Linked DNA regions of Homo sapiens: all the other regions are linked to region 5. The links are contacts of gene promoters, found by promoter capture Hi-C in blood cells and fetal thymus (Javierre and others, 2016). All regions are on one chromosome and are shown on one strand. The core of a region is centred on a gene start or on the middle of the fragment in contact, and the rest is flanking DNA. Distances in the headings are between cores, read along the strand shown.

Region 1 (2,700 bases), core at 187-2,686, 4.3 Mb before region 5:
ACAGAAGTGCTCTCCTAGGCTGGAAAGAATCTCATTTTCTTCTAAAACTGTGACTTCGGACTGACACTTCAAAATTGTCAACAGTAACTTAAGGGATGAGAATGTCTCTTTAGTTATTTTAATCAGCAGCATGTACGGAGTGCACTTTGGTGCACATCTGTTTGTGGGAAGATAAAGAAATAACTACCATGTCTGTCCTGAAGAAGTTGATCAGGTTAAGTAGGACGTTAAGACTAACACAGATTACTCTGTAAAAGATACTGATAAACATGTAAAAATTAACATTACACTGTACACTGGTGTTGTGTGCATCTGGTATAAGAATGATCAAAAGTATGGACGTCTTTTAAATGTCAGCTGACATCTTCAAGGATGAGGACATTTTGAAACAGTGTATTGGAGGAAGTGGTAGAGTCAGACTAACAGCAGAGGGTGTGGAGCAAGGAAATCCTGTGCAGGGATGGCCAGAAAATCTGATGGAATCAGACAGTTAAGAGGTCTAAGGCTTCACAGAAGAAGAGATGGAGATAAAATTATAGCATTTGCAGTTACTAAAGTAATGAAGAGGAAAACAAAAATCAATAGCATTACTATCAAAAATTGGAAAGGGCATGGAGTAAAAGAAGACAGAATGATCTGAATTTTCACCTTTCACAGCAAGTAGACAATGAATGTTATTGAAAGTGAAGAAATCAAGAGACAAAACCATCAGCAAATTATTTACTGAGGTGACCACCGAAATGGCTAAAATTATAAATCATTAAAGAAAGGAAGTAGGGGAAGGGAGGACTCAAAATTGTCATTTTGAATTTTCCAGTACTGACTGATGTTTTACCACGTTTATGCATTACCTTGATAATTTTTAATGGACAGTGGCAGCCTCTGATCTTCCAAGTGCTTTCAAAATATCAGGGCATATTTTATCATATTTATGATAACCTCCAAAATATGCTAGGTATGGCTGGAAAAAACAAAACATAACTCCTCCAAAATCCAGTACTTCGTAAGAAAAAAGAAGCTTCAGGTGTTCTTTGTAAATTATTCATGCTAACCAAGTCTCAGTATAGGTTGCCTAATGACTGATAATATATTTTGATACCTTCACTCTTCTTATTTCATTTTCAAGGGCTACTGGTTGTAGCCAGATACTAAAACTGGGCACTTTCAGTTACAGAAAAATTATCAGCACTTACAGGGGACTTGGAAATACCGTTGTCCTAAAATCCTTTATTCTCATTGTTAAATCACTAAGTCTAAAGTGAATCAGAGTTTTTCATTTTCCCAAGGTCCACAAAAAGTTGATCTAATATTTGGTTTCTCATCATTGTCTTATCTTCCAATTGTATTACATTCCCAGATGACCAAATCCTAGGATGTAAGAGTCTATTTTAGGGCTCATCTGGTTCAGTTTCCTCATTGTAAAGTTGAGCAAACTAGGACTCTTAGGGCTTGGTGACTTGCCCATGGGCATGAACAAATTAATAAACCTACCAGCTGTCCTCTCTCTGGCCCTTCTTTTAAAATGTTATGATATATGGTTTAATAACAACCTTGGCCAGGACTTTTGATTCCTATAATTCTCTTCCACTGACTTTCCCCTACCCCAGTGAAATCTTAGGTAGAAACTTCTTAAGAACAGTAAAAAATTACCTTTACCACAATAAAGACGTGAGTCATGTACCAAAATTTCTCTCCCACCCATCACTTCTTAGGCGCTTAGTCTTAAAGCATCATTTTTATTCTTTGAAGGCAAAACAGCCTTTAAGGGTTGGATATTCTTAATTCAGTCAATGTGGGAAGGGGGAGGTGAAAAAGGAACTCTCTGAGGATAATCACAATGAGAACAAAAGCTTATCCAAATTATGCAATGCATTATAATTATGCTATAAAATTGCTCTTCAGCCGGGGTGTCAATGGAGAGCATTACAATTTTTAAATAGTTCTGTTCTTGATGGGAATTCTTGATCATTTGAGGTGTTCACGTGTGTGCATGCACATTTAGACAAACCATGGAGCTAAAAGCATCCAGAATTTTGCTATCCTTCCCCCACAATTAAAAAAAAATTAAGAAAAGGCAAAAGCAACAACAATAACTCTATATGTACATGTAGGCATTGTCTTTATGGTGGGATCCTTGAGAAGGAAGAACTGTGGCTCTAAAATCAGCACATCTGAAGATGTCCAGGGCTGCTGGGAGCTGTTGGTTTAGAGTGTATTTGCCCAAAGCTGTCAGTCCTCCTGCAGATGAAGCTCACTGTGCAGAACAAGCAGTTGAGTGTGTTCCAAAAGTGAATAGGAGAGAATGCTAGAAACGAAGGGATCAAAGTAGAAGAAGGTGTAAAGCATTGATGTTTTCTAAGTAGCTGTCTCTCTCAGAACAGCACTATGCTGGGCATTTTTGAAAGCACAAGAAAGCAAAGACTTTTCTTATTTATAGAATTGAGGAAACCAATGGTTTTAGCTACTGGCTCTTGGCATGCCTATAATAAGAGAGTCATGATTTACAAAGATACTATTTTTAAGAGTTGTTCTGAGTTTTAAATTCCTACTTTAAGATCTCTCATTTTTCTCTTCCTTACCTTAAACGTTAACTGAATTGGCTATTTTTTTTTTTGATGTTCATGTTTTTGTTCTTGTACATAAATGGTTCCCAACCTGGCTTCACATTAGAATCCCCTGGGAATCTGTAAAAAAGTAATG
Region 2 (2,700 bases), core at 60-2,559, 3.7 Mb before region 5:
AGGGAGTCTTCAAACTTCCTCCTTGTCTGTGCTCCCAACCTCTTTCTGTGTCCTTTTGCAATCCCTTCAGTAGTTTCTCCATGTGACTACATTTTACTGCTTTTGTCCTTCTTACCAGTCCTTCCTCTTGCTACCAAACTCTTCCTCCTCCTCACTTTAAGAAGGCACTCTTAAAAAGTTGAAGCTTCTAGTCCACCCAGAAACAAATTGAGATAAGCTTTTTGAGAGGCTGCTTTATAGGCTGTTTCAATTCAGAGAGATTAAACAGGATGACCTCACTGAAAAAGAAACCACACTTAATAGCTTTAAATGGGACTGCTCTTAGCTGGGTCACCCTGAACCACTGCATACACTTCTTGTTTCAAGTGAATGTGGTGGTTTGGGCCAGAGTGAGTTGTCCGTGAGATAGTTTAAATGCCTTTGCTTTCAGAAATGAGCCAACACCTTACAATGTAAGCAGAGGGAGGGAATATGTAGGTTTGTCTGATATTCAATCCCAAACCCTGAATCCTATTCCTGAGACATCTTGGGAAACTGGCATTCTCTTTCTCTGCTTCTCTCAATGAGAAATTTGTGGAATGCAAGTTCTTCAGAATAGAGACTCCATCCATGTCTCACCCACGTTTATCCTAAATTAGGGACTTCAGATGAACACAGTTTAAGGTAACAGCAAAGAGCATCTCCTTTAAATCAGAAAGACCAGATCTCCACTCCCAGCTTCACTATCAGGGCTGTTGTTGGGGTCAAATAATAAGTTCATACAAGAGCTTATCACAATACTTAGAACACAGTAAATATTTAACACATTTTAATTATTTGTTAGTTTTTATCTTGAAATGGAAGCTGCCTCTATCAACAGCCAACATAAAGAACTCTGGGCTCTGTCCCAAAATATGTGGCCCAAATTTTAACTAAATCAAGACTTCTAGAAAGCTTTTCCTAAATCTCTTTGACTTCGTGAGGGATACTAACTTTTAGTAGCTTGCTCTCTCAGTCTTCTAAAGGGGAAACAGATTTTGCCAACATTAGGAAGTCTTCATTATTAATAGACATTGTTTTGAGTTCCCCCTGGCCAAGTTGCTGACTCAATACTTCTTGTTTTAGAAAAAGGAAGTAGCTGAAAGGCACCTGTTAATGAGACTAAAGTACCACAGTGTCTGTGTGTGTGGGTGGGTGTGGGTGTGTGAGCGCGCACACGTGCGAGAGAGGTGGGGAGAGACAATGAGAGAGAGAGAGAAGAGAGTTAAATCCCATTCTTCGAGTGAATATGAAAACCATCATATAGAAAGATGAGGTTCACGGTATATCAATTTTCTTGAAATGTCTAACTTTTATTTTCCCTTAAACATGCTTTTTAATTTTTGCCCTTAAGAAGTGTACAATAGACAAACCAATTGTTACTGTAATGGAAAGATTTTATTTCCTATAGCTTTCTTGATAAATAAAATTATTAAATTGGAATTGCCATTAACTTAGTTATAGAGTTCTGCAGTGTTACATCAAGTTATGTATTAAAGAAATTTAAAGAGGGTTTTGTAAGATGAGTGAAGGATGTACTTCATTCTAACTCAGTCCTTTTTCTTAGAACAGCCTTTTCTAATACAGCAGGACAAGACCTGTGGCCTTAAAGAGAGGTTTCAAACAAGGCACGTTACTTTCCTCTTTTATTAATTGATTCAAGCTTATCATGGAAACACATTTATTACATGTCTCCTATATGCCAAGGTTTGTGCTAGGGGTTGAAGATACAATCTAGGGAAAAGCAAACATAAAGAGGTAGAACATTGAGACTTACAAATTCTGTTGAAAAGAAAATAAAAAAGTAAAAGAGGTAGAACAGGATAAATTCTCCAGTAGAGGTAAGAACAGAGAGCTGTAGGGATGGAGGAAGCAATGACTAATTGCCTGTGGTCAAGGAAGGCTCAACCAGAGGAACTGACTCTATACCATGTAAAAACAGCACACTTTGTGGTATAACACCAGCCAGCTTCCTGCATTTTGATTTCTGACTGACCCAACTTTTGCTTTTGATCATTTCCTTTGGTTGGTCAGTCTGCCTGAAGCTCATATTCTACTCATACTCTATTTTTCTATATATTTCTAGAATCTAGACAGGATATGTGTTTGGCATATAATAGGTGCCTAATCAATGTTCAGCTGAAACGATGATGGCTCATGGCTTCAATAAGCTTCCATCCTCATTCCTTTATGCATAGAATGGATCTTCCTTTTTGTATTTAATCCCACATTTCTCCTCAATTTTAACTTTCATGATAAATTATTTGTTGGAGCTTTTGATTCCCCACTTCTAGCCAGAGTTCTGTACATAATCAATTGATGCTGGGCTCCTGCGGCCTGTTGTGTCCTCATGATATCTGGCATAGTGCTACATTCCCTTCATTGCCCTGAGGCTGTGGGTTTATCCCTTAAGATGCCAAGTATGTCCTTAGAATATCCTTGCAATGTCCAGGGATTTTCAGACTACTTCAGAATTATAATAGATATCTATTGACTTACCTCCAAAGTGATGGTAAAAAAGATCTGCTGAATTTTAGGGTCCTGGATGTGTAATCCTATACTGTAAGAATTTGCTTAGGTGGAGTTTTAAGCTAAAGGCTGATCACATTGCTTTATGAGCTAATCATTTCAAACAGCTCCAGACAAGAGTAGGAACACTCTTGTTGAACCCTAATCTAGCTT
Region 3 (2,700 bases), core at 36-2,535, 4.3 Mb before region 5:
TGAGTATAATTTCTCTATGCTTGTCTCTTCCTTTGCTGTGGTAGCTGGTAACATGATGGGTGGCAGAGCCTCTGCTAGACTGAATCCCTGGGTAAGTATGTGGAGGACAGCCATCATAGAATCATCACTAACCCCATGCTTCTTGACCCCAATCCTCCACAGCTCATGTTGGATAGGTAGCACAAATTTTTATTGAATTAAGCCATAAAGAGTTGGGGGGTTGTTTCTGCAGGTATGTCAGTCTGCCTAAGGACTAACTTTCTAGCTGCAGAGATGGAACTAAGAGTGGAGTCTTTCTCCTCTAAGTGAGTAGGCCTTTGCATAAGCAGCACAGACAGATGAGGGATGGAGGAAACAGAAGCAAGCTGCATTGCCACCCCCTATCCTCCTGGGACCAGTGAGAAGGAGGGGACTTCCTAACCAAAGAGGCTAGGAAGGCCTACAGGGTCTTAAGCGTTTCAAGCAGCATACTGAGCACATGATAGCAGACCAAAAGGGTATGATTATTTCAGCAGACCCAGGTTCTGGCCAGGGGAGAGCAGAGCTTGATGTAGCTGATCTCAGTAGGGGTAGCTTGTAGACTTTTCCCAGGCTGCCCACAGACATGGCCGTGGGGTCTCTCTATTACAACAGCCACGAACATAATGGAAAAAAAAAATAGGTAGGTAGCTGTGTGGTTAGTGGGGGCACCAATTACCCCATAAATCAATTTGCTGTGTGTGTGGAGTGGGGGGTTGTTGGAGCTTCTTATTTTGATATAATTTCAAACAAGAGAAAAAAATGGAAGAATCATAGAAAGAACTTCCACATACCCTTCACCAAGGTTCACTAGTCCCCTTAAAAGTAATCTCTTTCATACCCAACCTAGCTATAATGCCTAACTCAAACTTCAATATTAAAGTTTCATGAGTCAGCTTTATATGTAAGATTTGCAAAACGTGATAGAATACTGATATGGTTTGGGTGTGTCCCCACCCAAATCTCAACTTGAATTGTATCTCCCAGAATTTCCACATGTTGTGGGAGGGACCTAGGGGGAGGTAATCGAATCATGGGGGCTCATCTTTCCCATGATATTCTCATGACAGTGAATAAGTCTCTCGAGATCTGATGGACTTATCAGGGTTTTCTGCTTTTGCTTCTTCCTCATTTTTCTCTTGCCGCCACCATGTAAGAAGTATAAGAAGTACCTTTCACCTCCTGCCATGACTCTGAGGCCTCCCCAGCCACATGGAACTGTAAGTCCAATTAAACCTCTTTTCCTTTCCAGTATCGGGTATGTCTTTATTAGCAGTGTGAAAACGGACTAATACAAGTACGCTTAATGTATAGTTATTTTATATTAAAAAAAAGTAACACTCATTGGAAAAATAGGCAGAGGCCATAAGTAGCCATTTGAAAAAAGAAACAGAATGGACAAAATTATGAAAAGTTCAACCCCTCTAGTAATAAATGTAAATTAAAACCTCATTTTCCACTTAGCAGACTAACAAGTGTTTATACGTATGATTATACTTGTGTTGGCGATAGTATGAGAAAATACTATCGCGCTGTTTCTGGAAATTGGTTCAACGAATGATGTAATTGGCTTGTCTGGCAACAAATATCAAAAAAAAATTTTTTTTAATGCACTTGCCTTTTAGCACAGCAATCTTAATTCTAGGAAGGTATCTGAGGGAATAGGCAAACAAATGTCCCTGACCCACCCCAAGAAGAAGTGTATCTATTGGCCGGGCGCGCTGGCTCACACCTGTAATCCCAGCACTTTGGGAGGCCGAGGCAGGTGGATCACGAGGTCAGGAGACGAGACCATCCTGGCTAACACGGTGAAACCCCATCTCTACTAAAAATACAAAAAATTAGCCAGGCGTGGTGGCGGGCGCCCGCAGTCCCAGCTACTCAGGAGACTGAGGCAGGAGAATGGCATGAACCCAGGAGGCGGAGCTTGCAGTGAGCCGAGATGGCACCACTGCACTCCAGCCTGGGTGACAGAGTGAGACTCTGTCTCAAAAAAAAAGAAGAAGAGGAAGAGGAAGAGGAAGAAGGAAGAAGGAAGAAGAAGAAAAAGAAGAAGAAGAAGAAGAAGAAGAGAATCCATCAAAACAAGAGGAAGAAGAGGAAGAAGAAGAAGAGGAAGAGGAAGAATAAGAAGAAGAAGAAGAAGAAGAAGAAGAAGAAGAAGAAGAAGAAGAAGAAGAAGAAGAAGAAGAAGAAGAAAGAAGAAGAGAATCCATCACAACATTATCCAAAAAAAAAAAACAAAAAAAAAATCAGAATGAAGGGACTTTGGTCAATTAAATGATGGTGTTTTATAGAAAGCACTAACACCACCTACATAGCACTTATAGAACGCCTGGCTCTGTTCTTAACTCCTTGCATATATTAACTCATCTAAGCCTCCCAACAGATAGGTACTACAATTACTGTCAGCATTTCACAGATGATGGAACTGAGGAACAGAGAGGTTCGCTAACCAGGTCATAAAGCTAGTCAATGCAGAGCTAATATCTGCATCTAGGCGGTCTGGTCTGAGTCAGCTCTCTTAAATTTACATTACACAACCTTTCATAGGATGTGTAAGCCTCTCTCTGCAGCTACTAAAATGACAAAATAGATTGTATTCGCTGTCATGAAAAATGTTCATAATATATGCATGAGAAAAGTCGATTATGAAACATTAAGTACAGTTTGAAACCATTA
Region 4 (2,700 bases), core at 1-2,500, 4.2 Mb before region 5:
GTATTTGACTCTATGAGATGCATTTATTTCAAATGATGTTCATTTTTGGCTCCATCTTGTGTGCCTCATTTTTCATTTCACACACTTCTTTTTGTAGGTTATGTGCTCTTGTAAGCTATCTCGAATTCTGTTTTAAGGACAAGGTAGCATATAAATATAAGGAAATATATAAATGAAACAGAGGAAGGCTTTAAAGTCCAGAACACTATGGCCAGGAAGACAACTATGACTGTGGCTAGAGTTATGGTCTGTGGCCGTGATAATGAGTGTGTTATTAGGGCAGTCCAGCAGTGATTACAGGGAGTCAGACAGACCTCAGTCCAAGTCAGAGGTCTCTCTGCTGTTTATTAGTTGTATGATCTAAGGCATAGCATTCTCTAAACCTTCATTTTCTCATCTTTACAACAGTGATCTCTTTGTATCAGGGAGAGTGGATTAAATGAGGTAATGTATAGAAAGCACTTAGCACAACCGCACTCAATCATTAGCTATTGAGATTATCAGCACTATCACCTGGACAAGCAGCGGATGGGCCGCCCCTCTTGGCCAGGTCTTCTGTGCGCACTGACGTTGTATGAAAGTTGTCCCCACATCTCCTACACCCACCGACGCCAGGCGGCCGCGTCTGGGCCAGATATGGATCACGCCTGTGGAGCGCACCTCCACACAGGCAGCCCTCGTCCAAGGTGCAGGGCGCAGGGCACAGGGCACATGTCTACGGCCCAGTCCTGCAGACGGCTACCTAGAGACCCCAGGGCACAGGTTAAGGCAACTTCACAACTGTCTTTCCGTTCCTTTCCCCTGCCGGACTCCGCGCTCTGATATATACAGGAGAGGCCCTGGAGGGGAGAAGGCGTCCTCACTGCAGTGCTCCGAGCAGCGGCCGCAGGAAGAGGCGTGGAAGCTGCGGGTCGGCTGCGGGAAAGGGGGTCCCATGGGAGCCGCTAGGCGCAGCCCGTTTCCCGAGCTGAGGTGGAGGTCGACGGGCACAGGTGCCCTGCAAGGCGCGGGCGTGGTAGCCGGGAGCCCGCTCCTCTCCAACTCCCCTGAGACTTAACCCTTTGGCCAAGAGAGGTCGAAGGCGGGCAGGGGTGAGAGAACCGCGCGAGGCGCAGGCCGGGGCACCCGCGGAAAGGGGGCAGGTTTCGGGGAAGAGCGGCGGGGCGCCGCACGTTTCCTGCAGCCGCCAGCATCAGCGTGTCAGGTGGTTGCCAGGCGGGTGTGAGCGCGCGCGCGAGGCAGAGGGGGCGCGCTCGCACAAAGTTTGTGCCTGCGGTGCACCTCGGTCGGGCTCGCCGGGCTCGAGGGCTGGCGGGCGCCGGGGCTACGAGGCCCGGGGGGGAGAGAGCCGGCAGGCGGCGGCGGTGGTGGCGGGGGCGATGCGCCGCGCCCGGCCGCGCTAGGTGAGCCGGCACCGGGAGCGCGGGCCGCGGCCATGGGCACCCTGGGCAAGGCGAGAGAGGCTCCGCGGTGAGTAGAGGCGGCCGTGGCCCTCGGGAGCGCCTGTGTCCTTTCTTGGGAAAGAGGCCCCTGCCCGTCGCCCCAACACCCCGAGGGAAGTTGAGGGCGGAGGGGGGCCGGGGTCGGCCGGAGTCCCGGGACACCAGCGCGACGGGCGGACGTGTCCAGAACGCCCGGCGCGCTGCGCCCGGGGTTTCGGGGAGGGAGCTGGGGCTGAGGGGTGGTAGAGGGGCGGCCGCGAGGCCAGAGCTCGTCCGGTGAGATCTGCTAGGGCCGAAGCTCTTCGCGGAGCCGGCGCCCGCCCGCCGACTTCCTCCCCCACATCTCCACGCCCGGCATCGGGACTCCCACTCGCGGACTTTCCGCGCTGCCCGCACCTGCTGGGGCGCTGGGCTCCGGCTGCGCCACCTGGTGGCCCCTCCCGGCCCTGCCCAGAACGGCCGAGGAGCTTGCAGGGAGCCCGCAGAGGTGGCACCCCTCGGTTGCCCCTGCCCCACGGAAGTTTCCAGATCCGTGGGTCAGGGAAACATATCGCCTTCCGTATGGGAAGCTGCACTCCTCTCCCCCTCACTATGATTCTATAGAGGGTCTTGGATAACAGAAGTTGAAGAAAGAGGGACAGTGAGTGAAAGGGCTCTTGGCCAGGCAGCTTTGAGTTTGTAGCCAAAGGACCAGAACTAGGCAACTGCATGAACAAAGGCCTGGCCTCGGCGTAGGGGCTGGACAAGTTGTGCACTTCACAACTCCATTCACATCGACACTGATGGGACTGTGCCTTGCACCACCATACCCAGTAGCGGCAGGAAGCTTGCGATGCTGGACTTCCCGTGCTTATAATCCCAGGAACGAAGGATTCTTGGCCCTGTATGCACGCCCTGCCTCTCCCCATCCAGGTATCCCCTGAGGGTCCACCACTGTACTTTGCACTAGATTCAGAAGGAGGAGTTCAGTACATTAAATTGAGTATTGTAAGGGGAAGAGGACGGGACTGGAAGGAATCCATACTAGAAGTCAAGAGAGTCACCTTCCACTGCAAAGAAAGTTGTGGAAGTTCCAGTTCCCTTGCTCCATTTCATCTCTTACTTTTCTAGGCGGATTTCATAAAAAGCTCAGCCTGAAACTGACCTCCACTGAGATACCTATGCCTGGAGAGGATTTCACCTAAACCAGTTTAGAGTTTTGACGGTCTCCTTCAGCAAACCTATGGGGCTTTGGTTACTTTTAGGCTTGGAAAACACC
Region 5 (2,700 bases), core at 140-2,639:
ACTTCCGGGAATACAGTTCCCATTGCTAGGAGTGCTGCTTAAACATAACCACTTGTGAGGAGCCAAGACCCCAGGCAAAACCGGGGGCCAGTTTCTGGGCCCAGGTGATTGTTAAATTTAGAGGTCTTGATCACAGCTATAGGAAATAGCTTTTCAAACAAAACATTGGTGAGTCAGAATTTATCGAACACCACCATTTATACATTAAATAAACACTAAGAAAAAATATTCTAGCGACAAATGTAGTGGTGAAAACATGGAATGGATTTGAGAAAATACATCAACGTCTTCTCCAGGTATAAAAAAACGTATTATTTAGTGGAACTTTCAGTCTGACTAGAAAGTGGACATAGCATTTATTAAAAGGACAAGAACAACAACAAAAAATTAAAGTAGGACAAATGTGTTTAAGGTACTTTATAGTTTTATTTTTATTTATTTATTTCTTTGAGACGGAGTTTTGCTCTTGTCCCCCCAGGCTGGAATGCAATGGTGCGTTCTCGGCTCACTGCAACCTCCGCCTCCCAAGCTCAAGCGATTCTCCTGCCTCAGTCTAAGGAATAGCTGGGATTACAGGCACACGCCACCACGCCCGGCTAATTTTTGAATTTTTGGTAGAGACGGGGTTTCGCTATGCTGGCCAGGCTGGTCTGGAACTCCTGAGCTCAGGTGATCGATCACGCCCGCCTCAGCCTCCCAAAGTGCTAGGATTACAGTCGTGAACCACCGCGCCAGGCCTACTTTATAGTTTTAATTTTTTTTTTTTACATAAAAGTGGTTTATTTGTATGTAGACCTCTACATAAAAATTACAATGAGGGTTATTCCCAGGTATAGGAGCGGTGTTTCTGGTTAAAGAAATCATGAATGATGTTTTCAGAGACACTCATGAAAGAGAAATGGCTCCCCGGGTTCTGAGGGTGAGGAGCAGCGCCCGCCCTCTAGGATGCTTCCAGAGTGAGTGTGCAGCACAGCCGGACCGAGGAAAAGGATTATTCCCCTCTTCACGCGGGTCGGGCCGTGCCCTGGACTACAGCTCCCGTCGTGCCCCTGGCCACTCGTATTCGGCCCCGCCCCGCCTGCCGTGTCCCGCGGCGAGCGCAGGCGCGCTGCACTCGGTCACCGCGGGCTGCGGCGGCTGGGCGGGGCTTTCGGGCGCCCGCGGGACGGTTCCGCCCTCTCACTGCACCCCCGGGCTTCTCTTCGCAAGGTTCACCTCGAATGAGGAACAAGCGGGGAGGGAAGGGAAGGGCTGCGGCGGCGCGGGCGCACCCCGTCGGGCCCGGGGCTGGGGGAGGCCAGGTCACGTAACTGCTGCTCTGGCGTCGGGCCGGGGAGGGGGCGCCAGCCCCGGCAGCGCGAACCCTGCGCGCGCCGCGGCTCTGAAACAGTTACCGGCTAGTAAACAACAGCTGCGCGCGCACCCGCATCAGCTGGCGCCGGGATACTGCACCTGCGACCTCCTTCTCCCTCACCCTGCTGCCCAGTCAGGCCAGCCTGCGTGGCCGTCTCCTCCTCTACTGGGACCCTGAGGAAGAACGACGAGGGGGTGACCTGCGCCGGGGCGGGGGTAGGGGAGAACGCGCCTCCGGCAAAGGGGGTGGCTCGTCCTGTCACACGCAGGAGAAACCTAGCGAGCGGACCGTGGCTCAGTGGACTAGCTACGACTTGCCACGACTCTGAGCTGCAGTCCGAGGTGTCTTGATCCGCTAACCTCCTCCCAGACCCCGAGGACCTTTCTGCTAGGAGAAGAGCGGGCGCGCCACCCCCACCGACCTCTCGGAGACAGGAATCCGCTCTGCCCCTGCATCCTCCTCTGCTCACCCTTCTCTCAGTAGTGTGGGTTATTTTTCCCGTTATGCATGTGCACCTTTCCCACCAGACCCAAGTGGATTGTCGACATCAAAAACACCGGGTGGCTTTGCATACACCTCCCCCCAGCCAGACCTGTGGGGTATTCACCTGATACACAACAGGTGGCCGGGTGTACACCTTTTAGCAATCTGATCCACGCTATAGTCGCCTGATAAAGGTTTGCCTGCACGCACTTCGCCCAACTAGAACCGTGGGACACTCACCAGATAAAGGACTACCTCGACAGGAAACTGGGGGCTGAGGGGAGGGAGGCTTCATCTGCTGCCCTGAGACCATGGCACTGAGCCTTCAGCCCCGGACCAGAGGGGTTAGCTAGGTAGCTCTTCATTCTGAAGGAAAGAAGTCACACAAGATTGGCATTGTTTTGTCTTTTTGTTTTTTGTTTTTTTCTCTCTTAAAAAATATATTCACCTATTGGTGATGCACTTTCTAGGACAGTCGGCTTGAATTCTGAGTAGAAGTATTCTTAGTTGGGGCTTTTTGTGTGGTGTGAATCAAGGTTATTGAAATGTGTTATTTTTCAAGTTATCTTTTGTATTGCAGTCAAAAGTAGCTAGCGTAAGAGGAAGATTTTGCGAGGTTCCCCCCACTTTTTTTGTTCTTAAAAAGAACAAAATGCATCCTCCAGAAACCACCACCAAGATGGCTTCAGTTCGGTTCATGGTGACACCGACAAAGATCGATGACATTCCAGGTTTGTCAGACACCAGTCCGGACCTCAGCTCTCGATCTAGTTCCCGAGTAAGATTTAGCTCCCGGGAAAGCGTGCCTGAAACAAGCCGGAGTGAGCCTATGAGTGAGATGTCTGGGGCCACCACTTCGCTGG

What was found. Contacts are between HindIII fragments. The CHiCAGO score rates a contact against its expected background, and 5 or more counts as called.
Region 1: a fragment that was not itself captured here is called in contact with the fragment with the promoter of SLC12A6 in region 5 in 1 of 17 cell types (non-activated CD4 T cells); the score reaches 7.0 in non-activated CD4 T cells.
Region 2: a fragment that was not itself captured here is called in contact with the fragment with the promoter of SLC12A6 in region 5 in 1 of 17 cell types (M0 macrophages); the score reaches 6.9 in M0 macrophages.
Region 3: a fragment that was not itself captured here is called in contact with the fragment with the promoter of SLC12A6 in region 5 in 2 of 17 cell types (non-activated CD4 T cells and activated CD4 T cells); the score reaches 7.4 in non-activated CD4 T cells.
Region 4: a contact is called between the fragment with the promoter of RASGRP1 here and the fragment with the promoter of SLC12A6 in region 5, in 1 of 17 cell types (activated CD4 T cells). The highest score is 6.0, in activated CD4 T cells.

What each region holds. Positions count from the first base shown.
Region 1 is chr15:38,664,767-38,667,466 of GRCh38, reverse strand. No RefSeq gene overlaps it. Among named protein-coding and RNA genes, the nearest start is that of LINC02694, 30 kb to the left of the region's middle. The HindIII fragment of the contact is 832 bases long and covers 1,021-1,852 here.
Region 2 is chr15:38,083,737-38,086,436 of GRCh38, reverse strand. No RefSeq gene overlaps it. Among named protein-coding and RNA genes, the nearest start is that of LINC01852, 12 kb to the right of the region's middle. RefSeq lists a silencer at 363-422. The HindIII fragment of the contact is 748 bases long and covers 936-1,683 here.
Region 3 is chr15:38,680,773-38,683,472 of GRCh38, reverse strand. The region is part of intron 1 of LOC105370775 (a long non-coding RNA gene); the gene reads right to left. Among named protein-coding and RNA genes, the nearest start is that of LINC02694, 14 kb to the left of the region's middle. The HindIII fragment of the contact is 4,614 bases long and covers 1-2,700 here.
Region 4 is chr15:38,563,364-38,566,063 of GRCh38, reverse strand. It overlaps RASGRP1 (RAS guanyl releasing protein 1), which reads left to right and starts at 1,250. Exons shown (of 17, transcript NM_005739.4): 1 at 1,250-1,470. The coding sequence starts at 1,436. RefSeq lists enhancers at 644-833, 675-1,186 and silencers at 1,044-1,093, 1,254-1,493, 1,524-1,743, 1,754-1,953. The HindIII fragment of the contact is 3,108 bases long and covers 1-2,270 here.
Region 5 is chr15:34,336,470-34,339,169 of GRCh38, reverse strand. SLC12A6 (solute carrier family 12 member 6) reads left to right here and starts at 1,389. Exons shown (of 26, transcript NM_001365088.1): 1 at 1,389-1,838; 2 at 2,418-2,700. The coding sequence starts at 2,490. RefSeq lists a silencer at 975-1,534. The HindIII fragment of the contact is 4,998 bases long and covers 1-2,700 here.